2 separate regions of the Homo sapiens genome follow, and region 2 is linked to region 1. Evidence: promoter capture Hi-C in human tissues and cell types (Jung and others, 2019). All regions are on one chromosome and are shown on one strand. The core of a region is centred on a gene start or on the middle of the fragment in contact, and the rest is flanking DNA. Distances in the headings are between cores, read along the strand shown.

Region 1 (6,643 bases), core at 145-2,644:
TTTTTTTTTTTTTTTTTTTGAGACGGAGTTTTGCTCTTGTTCCCCAGGCTGGAGTGCAATGGCACAATCTCGGCTCACCACAACCTCCGCCTCCCGGGTTCAAACGATTCTCCTGCCTCAGCCTCCCGAGTAGCTGGGATTACAGGCATGCACCACCACGCCTGGCTAATTTTGTATTTTTAGTAGAGACGGGGTTTCTCCATGTTGGCCAGACTGGTCTCGAACTCCTGACCTCAAGTGATCCGCCTGTCTCGGCCTCCCAAAGTGCTGGGATTACAGGCGTCAGCCACCACGTCCAGCCCCGTCCACGTCTTTCTATTGCGGCCCGGCTTCCTCCTCTCCCCTCTGTCCCCTACACCCAGCGCCGGCCCTGCCCCTTCCCAGCTCGCAGCCCCTTCAGGGCTCCCTATGCCTCTTAAGACACAATCCCAGTCTCTCGCCGGCCCCGCACACCCCTCCGGCTTTGTCACCAGCTGTTCCCGTGAAATAACCCAGCTCTCCGCTCACCCGGGGCCCCGTCCTGTCCCCCAGCTCTGAAAGCCTTTCTCTACCCCAACCGCCCCGTGCCCCGGGCAGCTCAGCACATCCGGCTCAGTCGCACCCCACTGCCTCGAGCTCGCTGTCTTCCTGCACCTCCCCGGGATTCCCGGATTCCCGGCATTATCACTTCCACCCTGGGGAGGAGAAGGGAGCTTCAGACAATAACGTAGGGCCATCACTTGGAAACCCCACCTTTATTCTCCGACCCAGAACAGAAGCGGTGATTCAGAGCGGGATTAGGGAGTGCAGGAGGGACGGAGCCGCCCTCCCTGGGCGACGGCAGGGCTCGGAGGTGAGACCAGCAGTTTGGGTTCCATGAAGCCTCTGAGGAGCCCCAGGGTGGAGGCAGGAAAGTCGGGTCACCACCAGCTGTGCGCGAGCCATCTGCACCATTACTGCCAGGGTGGTTCATAGAAACTGCTGAGGGGAAGGAGACAAGGAAGGACCTGGTGGCCCGGGGTGGAGAAGGGGAGGGAGCTGGTGGTTGGAGCTCTAGAAACAGATCCACCTGGAAGGAAGTGGGGAGGGAGCTAAGGAGGGCGGCTGGCTGGGGAGGGGGGTCCTGGCTGCCGAGGGAGGGACCCTCCTCTCCTGGAGGTCCTGAGTTGGGGGTGCCTCCCAGAGGGCACCAGGGACCCACGAGGGCACACAGGTCCACGTCCCAAATCCCTGCTCTCCGCCTGGGCGTGTGTGCAGAGGTGTGCGTGTTGTAGGGTGGGAGAGGAGCCCCCTCACCTTCTCTCACCTGGTCCTGCTGAAGGAAACCGGGACAGAGTGGTTGGGCAGGCACCTCAGTGTTCCCTCTGGGTCTCTCTTCACTCAGGGCCAAAGAAACCCTTCCAGCATCGGTGACTGGCAAACCCCGCCCAGGAGCTACAGGGCTTTCCAGAGCAGGTGTGGCTGGGCTGCGGGAGGGAGGTGAGCCCGTAGCCCCTCCTCCCTCCCCATTGCCGGCCACAAAGTCCATCTTGTTATCTACCCTTAGCTCCTCCACCTGCACCAGGCACCCCAAGCCTGGCCATAAGGGTGGGGGAGAGAGGCAGGACAAGGTCGCATCCCCCATCCGGGTCCCCGAGGGTCTTCCTTGGGGAACTGTTGTGATGCCCCAACAGAAAGGGGCCCCCACTCTGCTCCGCTCCTCCAGGCAGCCAGGAAGGCCTCCAGGAAGGCAGCATGGAGGCGGGGGACAGAGTCCTGCTAGGCCAGGCTCTCGCTGACTCTGAGTCCCCTCAGAGTCTTATATTTATTTATTAATTAATTATTAGTAGTATTACTTTTTGAGAGAGTTTTGCTCTTGTTGCCCAGGCTGGAGTGCAATGGCGTGATCTCAGCTCACTGCAACCGCCGCCTCACAAGTTCAAGGGATTCTCCTGCCTCAGCTTCCCAAAGTGCTGGGATTACAGACGTGAGCCACCTCGCCCTGCCTATTTCAAAAAAATTTTTAAATACAAATGGGCCCGGTGTGGTGACTCACACCTGTAATTCTAGCACTTTGGGAGGCCGAGGCAGGCGGATCAACTGAGGTCAGGAGTCAGAGACCAGCCTGGCCAACAAGGTGAAACCCCGTCCTTATAAGAATACAGAAATTAGCCATGGCCCAGCACAGTGGCTCATGCCTGTAATCCCAGCACTTTGGGAGGCCGAGGCAGGTGGATCACCTGAGGTCAGGAGTTTGAGACCAGTCTGGCCAACATGGTGAAACCCTGTCTCTACTAAAAATGCAAAAATCAGTGGGGCGTGGTGGCATGCACCTGTAATCCCAGCTACTTGGGAGGCTGAGGCAGGAGAATCGCTTGAACTTGGGAGGCGGAGGTTGCAGTAAACTGAGATTACACCATTGCACTCCAGCCTGGGAAACAAGAGCAAAACTCTGTCTCAAAAAAAAAAAAGATGGATGAGGAATTTTACTGAGAGAAGAGGCAGGCACCACCAGAGCTCCCAGCAGTCCTAACAGGAGGAAAGAGAAACCAGCAGCCACTCCCCAGCTTCAGCTAAGCAGCAGGAGGCTACCTACCAGCTACGGAGCTCCCTTCAAACAAACAAACAAAAAAATCAGATCAAGCTTCCCACTCTAACCACCAGTTTGCAGAAAACAGGAGGACAAAGTTCCCAGTGAAACGACACCATGAGGCAGCAATCAGCCCAGTCCAGAATGTGAGCCCGTCCACAGGACAAACGACCTGTTTCCCTGTGATTCAGCGACAAGGAAAAAAGAAACAGGGTGGGGCGGGGAAGTGGGGAGGTGAGCTGTCATAAAATATGCAAAACAGGCCAGGTGTGGTGGCTCACGCCTGTAATCCCAGCACTTTGGGAGGCTGAGTCGGGCGGATCACGAGGTCAGGAGATTGAGACCATCCTGGCTAATACAGTGAAACCCCGTCTCTACTAAAAATATATATAAAAAAAAAATTAGCCGGGCGTGGTGGTGGGTGCCTGTAGTCCCAGCTACTTGGGAGGCTGAGGCAGGAGAATGGCGTGAACCCCGGGGGCGGAGCTTGCAGTGAGCCGAGGTCACACCACTGCACTCCAGCCTGGGCGACAGAGCAAGACTCCCTCTCAAAAAAAAAAAAAAAAAAAAAACGCAAAACAGATTTGGGGCTCAGAGGCTTAGACTTTCCAACTCCATGAATGTCCCACAGATGTTCCAAAGTCATGGGAATGACCTGGGCGCAGTGGCTCATGCCTGCAATCCCAGCACTTTGGGAGGCCGAGGCAGGAGGATCACCTGAGGTCAGGAGTTTGAGACCAGCCTAGCCAACATTTTTTTTTAGTGAAACTCCATCTCTACTAAAAATACAAAATTAGCTGGGCATGGTGGTGCACGCCTGTAATCCCAGCTACTCAGGAGGCTAGGGGAGGAGAATTCCTTGAACCTGGGAGGCAGAGGTTGCAGTGAGCCGAGATGGTACCACTGCACTCCAGCCTGGGTGACAGAGCAAGACTCTGTCTCAAAAATAAAACAAAGTCCTGAGAATGCAGGACAAACCTTCATTGCGTAACTTTTATTGTCGCTGACCCCAGCCGCGTAAACGCTGTGGTAGCATCCTAGGACCTCCACTGTGACAACTAAAAACAACCCCCACAGATTCCCATAACTCCCCCAGGGGGACAGCACTCCGGAATTCAGGACTGTTGCCCTAAACCCTCTGTTTTCCATTTCAGCTTTCCCTTACTGGTGCACGCCCCCATGCTTGGCCACCACGGCCAATTTCAAGCTACCAATAAGAGATCATTGAACATGGAATTGGAAAGAAACGCACAGTAATACATTGTTCTATAGTAAGTCTTCTTACTATGGTAAACACTTACCAGCCAGTTCTCTGGAGAAAAAAACACACTGTATGTTAGTATCTGCCAATCTGTGTGCCAATCAATGTATGTGCTCACTGCAACCTCCGCCTCCTGGGCTCAAATGAGTCTCCTGCCTTGGCCTCCTGAGTAGCTGGGACTACAGGTGCCCGTCACCACACTCAGTTAATTTTGTGTTTTTTTGTAGAGATGGGGTCTCACTATGTTACCCAGGCTGGCCTCGAACTCCTGAGCTCAAAGCGATCCTCCTGCCTCAGCCTCCCAAAGTGCTGGGATTACAGGTATGAACCATCTTGCCTGGCCTATTTACATTTATTATGTCTGTGTAATAGGCTTGCTATAGAACAATGTAATACTGTGCATTTCTTTCCAATTGCATGTTCAATGATCTCATATTGGTAGCTTGAAATTGGCCGTGGTGGCCAGGCATGGAGGCATGCACCTGTAATCTCAGCTACTCAGGAGGCTGAGGCAGGAGCATAGCTTGAAGCCAGAAGTTAAAGACCAGCCTGGGCAACATAGCAAGACCTTGTCTCTCTACAAAAAATAAAGAAAATTAGCCAGACATGGTGGCACATGTCTGTAGTCCCAGCTACTTGAGAGGCTGAGGCAAGAGGAGCCCAGGAGGTCCAGCGTCAGCTATGATCCTGACGCTGCACTCCAGCCTGAGTGACAGAGAAAGACCCTGCCTCTGAAAAATTAAAAAATAAATCTGGGCACAGTTGTTCACGCCTGTAATCTCAGCACTTTGGGAAGCTGAGGCAGGCAGATTGCTTGAGACCGGGAGTTCGAGACCAGCCTGGCTAACATGCTGTAACCCAGTCTCTACTAAAAATACAAAAATTACCTGGGTGTGGTGGTGCACACCTGTAGTCCCAGCTACTCGGGAAGCTGAGGCATGAGAATTGCTTGAACCTGGGAGGTGGAGGTTGCAGTGAGCTGAGATCACGCCACTGCACTCCAGCCTGGGTGACAGAACGAGACTCCATCTCAAGAAAAAAATAAGAAAAGTTTTTTTAAACACAAGTGTGTGAGGGTGGCTGTCCAGGGACACAAGGACACCGAAGAATGGTGATCAGTGCTTCCAGTATGGGGAAAAGTGGAACTCATTTATACAGGTAAAAATGGAGAGGTCAAACGCAGTGGCTAATGCCTGTAATCCCAGCACTTTGGGAGGCCAAGGCAGGTAGATCGTTTGAGGTCACGAGTTTGAGACCAGCCTGGTCAACATAGTGAAGCCCTGTCTCTACTAAAAAAAAAAAAATACAAAAATTAGCTGGCTGTGTGGTGGTGAGCACCTGTAATCTCAGCTACCTGGGAGGCTGAGGCAGAAGAATTGCTTGAACCTGGGAGGCAGAGGCGGGGTGGGGTGGAGGTTTCAGTGTTCCGAGATCGCACCACTGCACTCCAGCCTGGGCAAAAGAGCAAGACTCTGTCTAAAACAAACAAACAAACAAAACAAACAAAAAACCAACAACAACAACAACAAAAAATGGAGATCGTGAGCAGAATGACAGCATTTTGCATACAAAGGCTAACATACAGTTATAAGATTAGATTGACAGTTATAAAAGATTAGATTAGGTGCAGTGGCTCACACCTGTAATCCCAGCACTTTGAGAGGGTGGCGGGCTGATCATGAGGTCAGGAGTTTGAGAACAGCCTGGCCAACCCTGGTGAAATCCTGTCTCTACTAGATACAAAAAATTAGCCGGGCATGGTGGCTGTGCCTGTAATCCCAGCTACTCGGGAGGCTGAAGCAGAATTGCTTGAACCTGGGAGGCAGAGGTTGCACTGAGCCAATATCGTGCCATTGCACTCCAGCCTGGGTGACAGGGTGAGACTCCATCTCAAAAAACAAAACGAAAAAAAGGCCGGGCACGGTGGCTCACGCCTATAATCCCACCCAGCACTTTGGGAGGCTGAGGTGGGCGGATCATGAGGTCAAGAGATCGAGACCGTCGTGGCTAACATGGTGAAACCCCCATCTCTACTAAAAATTTAAAAAAAATTTTTTTAAATTAGCTGGGCATGGTGGCGGGCACCTGTAGTCCCAGCTACTCGGGAGGCTGAGGCAGGAGAATGGCGTGAACCCGGGAGGCAGAGCTTTCAGTGAGCTGAGATCACGCCACTGCACTCCAGCCTGGGCGACAGAGCGAGACTCCGTCTCAAAAAGAAAAAAAATTGTAGGCCGGGCACAGTGGCTCATGCCTGTAATCCCAGCACTTTGGGAGGCCGAGGTGGGCAGATTATGAAGTCAGGAGATCGAGACCATCCTGGCTAACATGGTGAAACCCCGTCTCTACTAAAACTACAAAAAGTAGCCAGGCGTGGTGGTGGGCGCCTGTAGTCCCACCTACTCAGGAGGCTTAGGCAGAAGAATGGTGTGAACCCGGGAGGTAGAGCTTGCAGTGAGCCAAGATCGAGCCACTTGCACTCCAGCCTGGGCTACAGAGCGAGACTTGTCTCAAAAAAAAAAAAAAAAAAAGAAAAAGAAAAAAGAAAGAAATTTACTCTTTCTGGACGGGCGGGGTGAGGTGGCTCACGCCTATAATCACAGCACTTTGGGAGGCCGAGGCAGGTGAATCATGTGAGGGCTGAAGTTCGAGAGCAGCCTGGGCAACATAGTAAAACCCTGTGCCTACAAAAAATGCAAAAATTAGCTGGGCATGGTGGTGCACATCTGTAATCCCATCTATTCAGAAGGCTGAGGAATGAGAATCACTTGAGCCCAGGAGGCAGAGGTTGCAGTGAGCTGAGATCGCACCACTGCACTCCAGCCTGGGTGACAGGG
Region 2 (6,643 bases), core at 2,307-4,806, 270 kb before region 1:
TTCTGGAAACCACGTGGTGTCCCTGCGAATGGGGCGATCAAGTCCAGAGCCGGGGCACTTTCAGAGTTTGAAGGTAACTGAGAGCAGATGGTCCTCCATTTCAACTCCAGAAGTGGGGCTCTGGGAGGGATGTTCTAGCCCTCCCTGGCATGTCAGAGCCAGGCTCTGCCTGGAGGATCCCTCCATCCGGCTCCTGTCATCCCCTACACTTTGGCCAAGCAAGAGGTGGTAGAACCACTTGGCTGCTCATTCCTTCTGGAGGACACACAGTCTCAGTCCAGATGCCTTCCTGTCTTTCTGGCCCTTTCTGGACCAGATCCTACTCTTCCTTTCTAAATCTGAGATCTCCCTCCAGGGAATCCGCCTGCAGAGGACAGAGCTGGCTGTCTTCCCCCACCCCTAACCTGGCTTATTCCCAACTGCTCTGCCCACTGTGAAACCACTAGGTTCTAGGTCCTGGCTTCTAGATCTGGAACCTTACCACGTTACTGCATACTGATCCCTTTCCCATGATCCAGAACTGAGGTCACTGGGTTCTAGAACCCCCACATTTACCTCGAGGCTCTTCCATCCCCAAACTGTGCCCTGCCTTCAGCTTTGGTGAAAGGGAGGGCCCCTCATGTGTGCTGTGCTGTGTCTGCACCGCTTGGTTTGCAGTTGAGAGGGGAGGGCAGGAGGGGTGTGATTGGAGTGTGTCCGGAGATGAGATGAAAAAAATACATCTATATTTAAGAATCCCAGGTGTGGTCAGACATGACACTTGGTGGGCCTGGCTGTGACGTCCCCCCAGTACCACCCCTTCCCTGGTCTGAGCTCATCCTCTTATTCTAGAGAGACTTGGGGGGTCTCCCTATGTTGCTTAGGCTGGTCTCAACCTCCTGGGCTCAAGTGATCGTCCTGCCTTGGCCTCCCAAAGTGCTGGGATTACAGGCTTGAACCACCCTGCCCCAGACCCAGGGGAAGGAGAAGGGGAAGAGTCAGAGCTGACACAGCAGTTTTGCAGCTTGGACACAGCAAGTGCTTTTTAAGGCCTGTTTTAAGCTTCTTCAGTTCCCATTTGGAGAATCCGGCCCAAGGTTTCACATCCCATTTCTGTGATGAACCCTAAACCCCTTGTCCAGCATTGCTTGGGCATCACGTGTTCCTGGCTGCTCAGCTCCACTGGCCAGTTCCTCTCAGTGTGCGCCTCACATTGGGATCACTCAAGCTCGGGCCATAATCTCTTAAACTCTGGAGCAAAGACCTCAGTGAGCCCCCCGGTTGCCATGCAAGTTGCATAGCAATAGCGTCAATGTGCCCATATAAAGGGCCTAATAATTCCAACTGCCTCCCAGAATTGAGGCTTTTTTCTTTTTTGAGACAGAGTCTTACTCTGTTGCCCAAGCTGGAGCACAGTGGCGCCATCTCAGCTCACCGCAACTTCCGTGAGGCAGACATGTTTTTTGTTTGAGATGGGAGTTCCACTCTTTTTGCCCAGGCTGGAGTGCAATGACGCCATCTCAGCTCACTGCAACCTCCGCCTCCCAGATTCAAGCGATTCTCCTACCTCAACCTCCTGACTAGCTGGGATTACAGGTATGAGCCACCACACCCAGCTAATTTTGTATTTTAGTAGAGACGGGGTTTCTTCATGTTGGTCAGGCTGGTCTCGAACTCCTGACATCAGGTGAGCGACCCACCTGGCCCCATAATCACTCGTTAAATAGGGCTGTTTCTGGCTGAGACCTAACATCTGTTTCTAGATACCAACCTAGGTCTTAATTCAACTCCCTGGAGTCTATCTCTACCATCTGGGAGGGACAGTTAACAGCCAGGCAAGCAGAGAACCCTCAGGTTCAACACTACCCAGATAGCCTCTTGTCTTAGGACAGTTAAGAAAATGGGAGATGGGGCCAACTCCTCTTTCACTGGCATCCCAACCCAGCCAGAAGCTTTATGAGAACAGATCCCACCTCATCTTCCACACCACACACAAAACCACCAGCTGCATCAAAAAGCTTTATTTCCATTTGGTCCAAGGCTTGTTAGGATAGTTAAGAAAGCTGCCTATTGGCTGGAGGGAGAGGCTTAGGCAGAAGCCCTATTACTTTGCAAGGGGCCCTTCAGAAGTCGCTGGGCTCAGAAGGCTCTTAGTCGTGCTTGAGAGTGAGCCTTTCGAAGAGATACTCGCCCAGCCCAGCCTCCGGGCCACCCAGCCTGTGGAGGTTGGTCAGGTGGTCACCCATCTTCTTGATAAGCTTCACTTCCTCATCTAGGAAGTGAGTCTCCAGGAAGTCACAGAGCTGAGAGAGAAGAGGGAGAAATTAGAAACCCAATCCCTGGAAAAGAGGGGGAGAGAGCAGCCAGTTGCAGATTAAAATGTGACAGGTGTGAAATGAGGCTCTGAAGGAAATTTGCCCAAAGGGAGCAGAGGCTTGAGGGGTATGGTTGGGTAGCCATGGATGCAGCGGGTACGTACATGGGGGTCCGTGCGGGCAGAACCCAGGGCATGAAGATCCAAAAGGGCCTGGTTCAGCTTTTTCTCCAGGGCCATGGCAGCTTTCATGGCGTCTGGGGTTTTACCCCACTCATCTTCAGCTGGCTTCTATATAGAAGGGAGAAATGGCTCAGAATACACACACTCGGCACATAGAACTAAACCTACATTTCCCAAGAGTCGTTGGGGGTCAGAGGCCCAGGCCACAAAGACATGTGACAGCTTGTATTTATCACTCTCCGCACCCTGTCCTAGCTCTTACAGCTATACGTCCCTAAGACCACGCAGCGGTGTGGACTGCCGCGTGTTGTGGGCACTGCACGAGGTGCGCCTCTATTTCCAGCGGTTAAGAGGGCTCACAAGACCGAACTCAATCTCCCAGAAGCCCACGCGACACCTACGCCCTCAAATCAAGGCTCCTCGCGCGCACGGCCTGCTGGGAGATGTAGTCCATTACCCACACACTAGTTACCTTGATGTCCTGGAAGAGAGCGCGGCCGCCACGCTGGTTTTGCATCTTCAGGAGACGCTCGTAGCCCTCGCGCTTCTCCTCGGCCAATTCGCGGAAGAAGTGGCTCACGCCTTCCAGAGCCACATCATCGCGGTCGAAATAGAAGCCCTACGGGAAGAGATGGAGGCAACAATGGTTAGCGGGAGGCGAGGCCAAGGGGACTCCGCCCTCTGTTTACCCGACCGCACAAAGAAGGCTGGCGCGTGCAGTGAGGGCCGGAGGTGCGCAGCTGGAGGAAATTAGGGCCAGGGGCGTCCTGGGGACTCACCAGAGAGAGGTAGGTGTAGGAGGCCTGCAGGTACAAATTGACCAGGCTGTTGACGGCTGCCTCCACGTCGGTGGAATAATTCTGACGAATCTGGGAGCTCATGGTTGGTTGGCAAGAAGGAGCTAACCACAAAAACGGTGCTGGCAGGTCCCAGAAGCAGGAGATGGCCGAGAAGATGGTCCCGGAGGTTGCAAGCGGAGAGGAAATCGGAGGGCGGTCGGAGGCTGGAAGAGAGTCCCCGGATCTGTTCCGTCCAAACACTGTTGAAGCAAGAGACAGACCCGCGGGACCGCCGAACTGCGAGGGGACGTGGCTAGGGCGGCTTCTTTTATGGTGCGCCGGCCCTCGGAGGCAGGGCGCTCGGGGAGGGCTAGCGGCCAATCTGCGGTGGCAGGAGGCGGGGCCGAAGGCCGTGCCTGACCAATCCGGAGCACATAGGAGTCTCAGCCCCCCGCCCCAAAGCAAGGGGAAGTCACGCGCCTGTAGCGCCAGCGTGTTGTGAAATGGGGGCTTGGGGGGGTTGGGGCCCTGGGGCTGATTCTGGAAATGCAGGGGTTCGTGGGCGGGAGGGTGGGGGCTGGGGTCCCTCTGGGAGGCTAGAGTTTTATGGGAGCACTAACAGCCCTGTGAACTGATGACCCTGGGGTCCTGGGGTGCCTCGGGAAAGTAAGATTCTGGGGTTTCCGAGGGCATGGATTTTTCTGGAACCTTGAGTGGGGGGAGGGGCACCTCAAAGGTGCAGGGAGGACCTGTAGTTGCCTGAGGTTTGCGCTGCGAGATAAGGAGTCTCCGGATCCTTGGGAAGCTTGGAAGGCTGTGAGGTGTTATTTCTGGACCCCTGGAGATCTCTGGAAGATGGAGTGTTGCGGGGACTGGAGTCCTGGGATTTACAGGGGTGGGGGTTCACGATGCAAACTCTCTATATTTTGGAGCCCTCCCCGGGGAAATCTTTAGGTTCTTGAGGTGCTCTGCAAGTTGGAAAGGGCAGTTATTCTGGAGCCGTGGGTTTCACCCAGTGCGGGAAGCCCAGGAGGAGCATTGTATGAGGTAGGGTGACTTCTGGAACCCTGGACAGCCCTCTGGAACCCTCCAAAGATGGGCTGGGACTTTGGGGATACCTTGGAGCTCTTTCAGGGGCCCAGGCTTTTTCTGGGAGTGGAAATGGGGAGGAATGAAAAGTCTGTTTTGAGCTTTGCGGTGTCTCTGGGATTGCATTTCCTGGAGGCTGTTTTGGAGACAACTCACAGACTTCGAGAATTCTCCGTGGCCCTGAACAGTGTCTCTGAAGTTGCCCTCGTGTCTTGCCTGACGTGTGCTCCTTCAGGCCCACAAAGAGAAGCCCTGCGTTGTGGACAAACAGTCTGGGGACCTATGGACGAGACGTCTGTCTTCGACTAATGCATATTTTTTAAGTGGGCCTGGTCCACGTTGATTTCTGGGAGACGGAGTCGGCGCAAACCTTGACTCTACTTAAGTGCCCTGATGGAGGCAGCCCGTGCGCTGGGCAGGGAGCTGAAGCCACTGGGGTGTGGGGTGAGGTCAGGCCCTGCCCTACAGAGGAGCTGCTCCGAACAGCCCAGGCGGGGCAGCCCCTGACCGAGGGGATCTGCAGATGCCCCGCCAGGCCGGTATCTGGGGTCCTTGTTGCAGGCAGCGACTGCTGAGTCATGCTGAGCTCAGCGCGGGAAGGGGCCCCCGCGGGGACGGATGGGGGTGGGGCCACTCGCTGACCTCATCCCCTTGGCACTCCCCGACTTTTTTGGTGGGACCCTCAGAACTAGACCTGGCTCAGACCCAAATCGGGCCCCCTACCCCAAGGTCCCCCCTTGTTGGAAGCCGGCTGTGTGCTTTGTCTCCGTGTCTTTTTGGTTCCCATAATTTTTTTTTTTCTGGGATCCTGCCTGTGGCCATATTGTCCCCTCACTCTGGGTGGTGGCTCAGTGTACACTCATTGATCCTCTGCCCCTCTCTCTCCCCTGACTTGGGGTCTCTGGGAAGAGTCCATGGAGGAGGGGCAGCCGTCCAAAGCACCCCGTTGACTGTGGGGCCCGAGTTACTCATTTACCAAATGTCATACCTCAGCCCAGAGACCTTTAGTCGGCCGAGAGGGGCCTTGGGGCCCATAGGTGGAGGGAGAGGAGGGGCTGAGAGAGACAGGATCTGAAGACCATAGAGAACGTGGGGTGGGGAGACAGAGGCCCAGAGAAAAAGAGACTCAGACAGAGACCCTGAGAGAGAGGGGGACAGAGACCCAGAGAGAGGGGAAAACAGACCCGGAGACAGAGGGGTACAGAGACCCTGAGAGAGAGGGGAGGGGGACAGACCTAGAGAGAGGAGGGCAGAGACCCAGAGGGAGGGGAAAAGAGACCCAGAGAGAGGGGGGGACAGAGGTGGGGGGGGACAGAGGCAGGGAGGTACAGAGACCCAGGGGTGGGGGGGATAGAGACCCAGAGGGACCCGGCGGGAGGGGACAGAAATCCAGAGTGGGGGACAGAGATCCAGAGAGAGGTGGGGACAGAGATCCAGAGAAGGGGGTACAGAGACCCAGAGAGAGGGGGGACAGGGACTCAGAGAGAAGGGGACAGAGACTAGGGAGGACTGAGACCTGGGGGGGCGGGGACAGGGACCCGGGGGCGGGGGACAGAGACCGGGGAGAGGGAAAGAGACCCAGAGAGAGGGGAGGTACAGAGACCCAAGAGAGAGTGACAGCCAGAGAGAGGACAGAGACCCAGAGAGAGGGAGACAGAAACTCAGGGTCGGGGGACAGACCCAGAGAGAGATGGGGGGCCAGAGATCCAGAGGGGGGGACAGAGACCCAGAGAGAGGGGGCCAGAGGTCTGGGTGCCAGGGGTGGAAAGAGGCCCAGAGAAAGAGGGCCAAAGGTGGGGTGGGAACAGAGGCTCGGAAAGCAAAGACCCAGAGCATGGGGACAGAGACCCAGAGATGGGAGGGGGTAAAGACCCAGAGGGGGGTGCCAGAGACCCTGTGACTGAGAACCCACATCCTCTAGCCCCCTTGTCTTCGCTCCGCCTGTGTCTAAGGTCACTGGGCCTCTGAGCTCAGCACCTTCTTCCGGCAGTTCCTCTCCAGGGGGGCCCCACCCAGCTGTGGGGCCAGACCAGGTTCCTCCTCCTCTGCCCTGCCCTCCAGCCTCTCAGTCGCCAGCCAGGTCCCTTCCTCTCTGTCCTCAGCCCAGCTCAGGAGGCCTCTCCCGTGGGCCCTCGCCCTGGTGTCCTCAGCCTGCCACCCTCCAGCGACCTCACCACCAGGCTCCAGAGCCCTTCCTGCTCCTCTGGTCCTCCCATCCCTCCTCCCCCCACTCCCATTCTCCAGCTCGGTAAAGGTATGGCCTCCTGAGGTCCCACGTGTGACACGCCAGGCTGTGGTC

Evidence for each region. The method cuts DNA at HindIII sites, captures the fragments that hold promoters and counts their contacts. A contact is called where the count stands out against the background at its distance.
Region 2: a contact is called between the fragment with the promoter of FTL here and the fragment with the promoter of FUT2 in region 1, in 5 of the 25 tissues and cell types used here (IMR-90 fibroblasts, dorsolateral prefrontal cortex, heart right ventricle and 2 more).

Annotation. Positions count from the first base shown.
Region 1 is chr19:48,690,722-48,697,364 of GRCh38, reverse strand. FUT2 (fucosyltransferase 2 (H blood group)) reads right to left here and starts at 1,394. Exons shown (of 2, transcript NM_000511.6): 1 at 1,276-1,394. RefSeq lists enhancers at 432-995, 1,560-2,123. The HindIII fragment of the contact is 31,324 bases long and covers 1-6,643 here.
Region 2 is chr19:48,962,222-48,968,864 of GRCh38, reverse strand. FTL (ferritin light chain) reads right to left here and starts at 3,556. Exons shown (of 4, transcript NM_000146.4): 1 at 3,256-3,556; 2 at 2,949-3,095; 3 at 2,459-2,584; 4 at 1,986-2,282. The coding sequence starts at 3,357. The coding sequence ends at 2,130. It overlaps GYS1 (glycogen synthase 1), which reads left to right. Exons shown (of 16, transcript NM_002103.5): 16 at 1-735. RefSeq lists enhancers at 307-536, 3,267-3,316, 4,866-4,975, silencers at 3,567-3,726, 6,497-6,643 and cis regulatory regions at 4,657-5,157, 6,097-6,617. The HindIII fragment of the contact is 5,012 bases long and covers 1,487-6,498 here.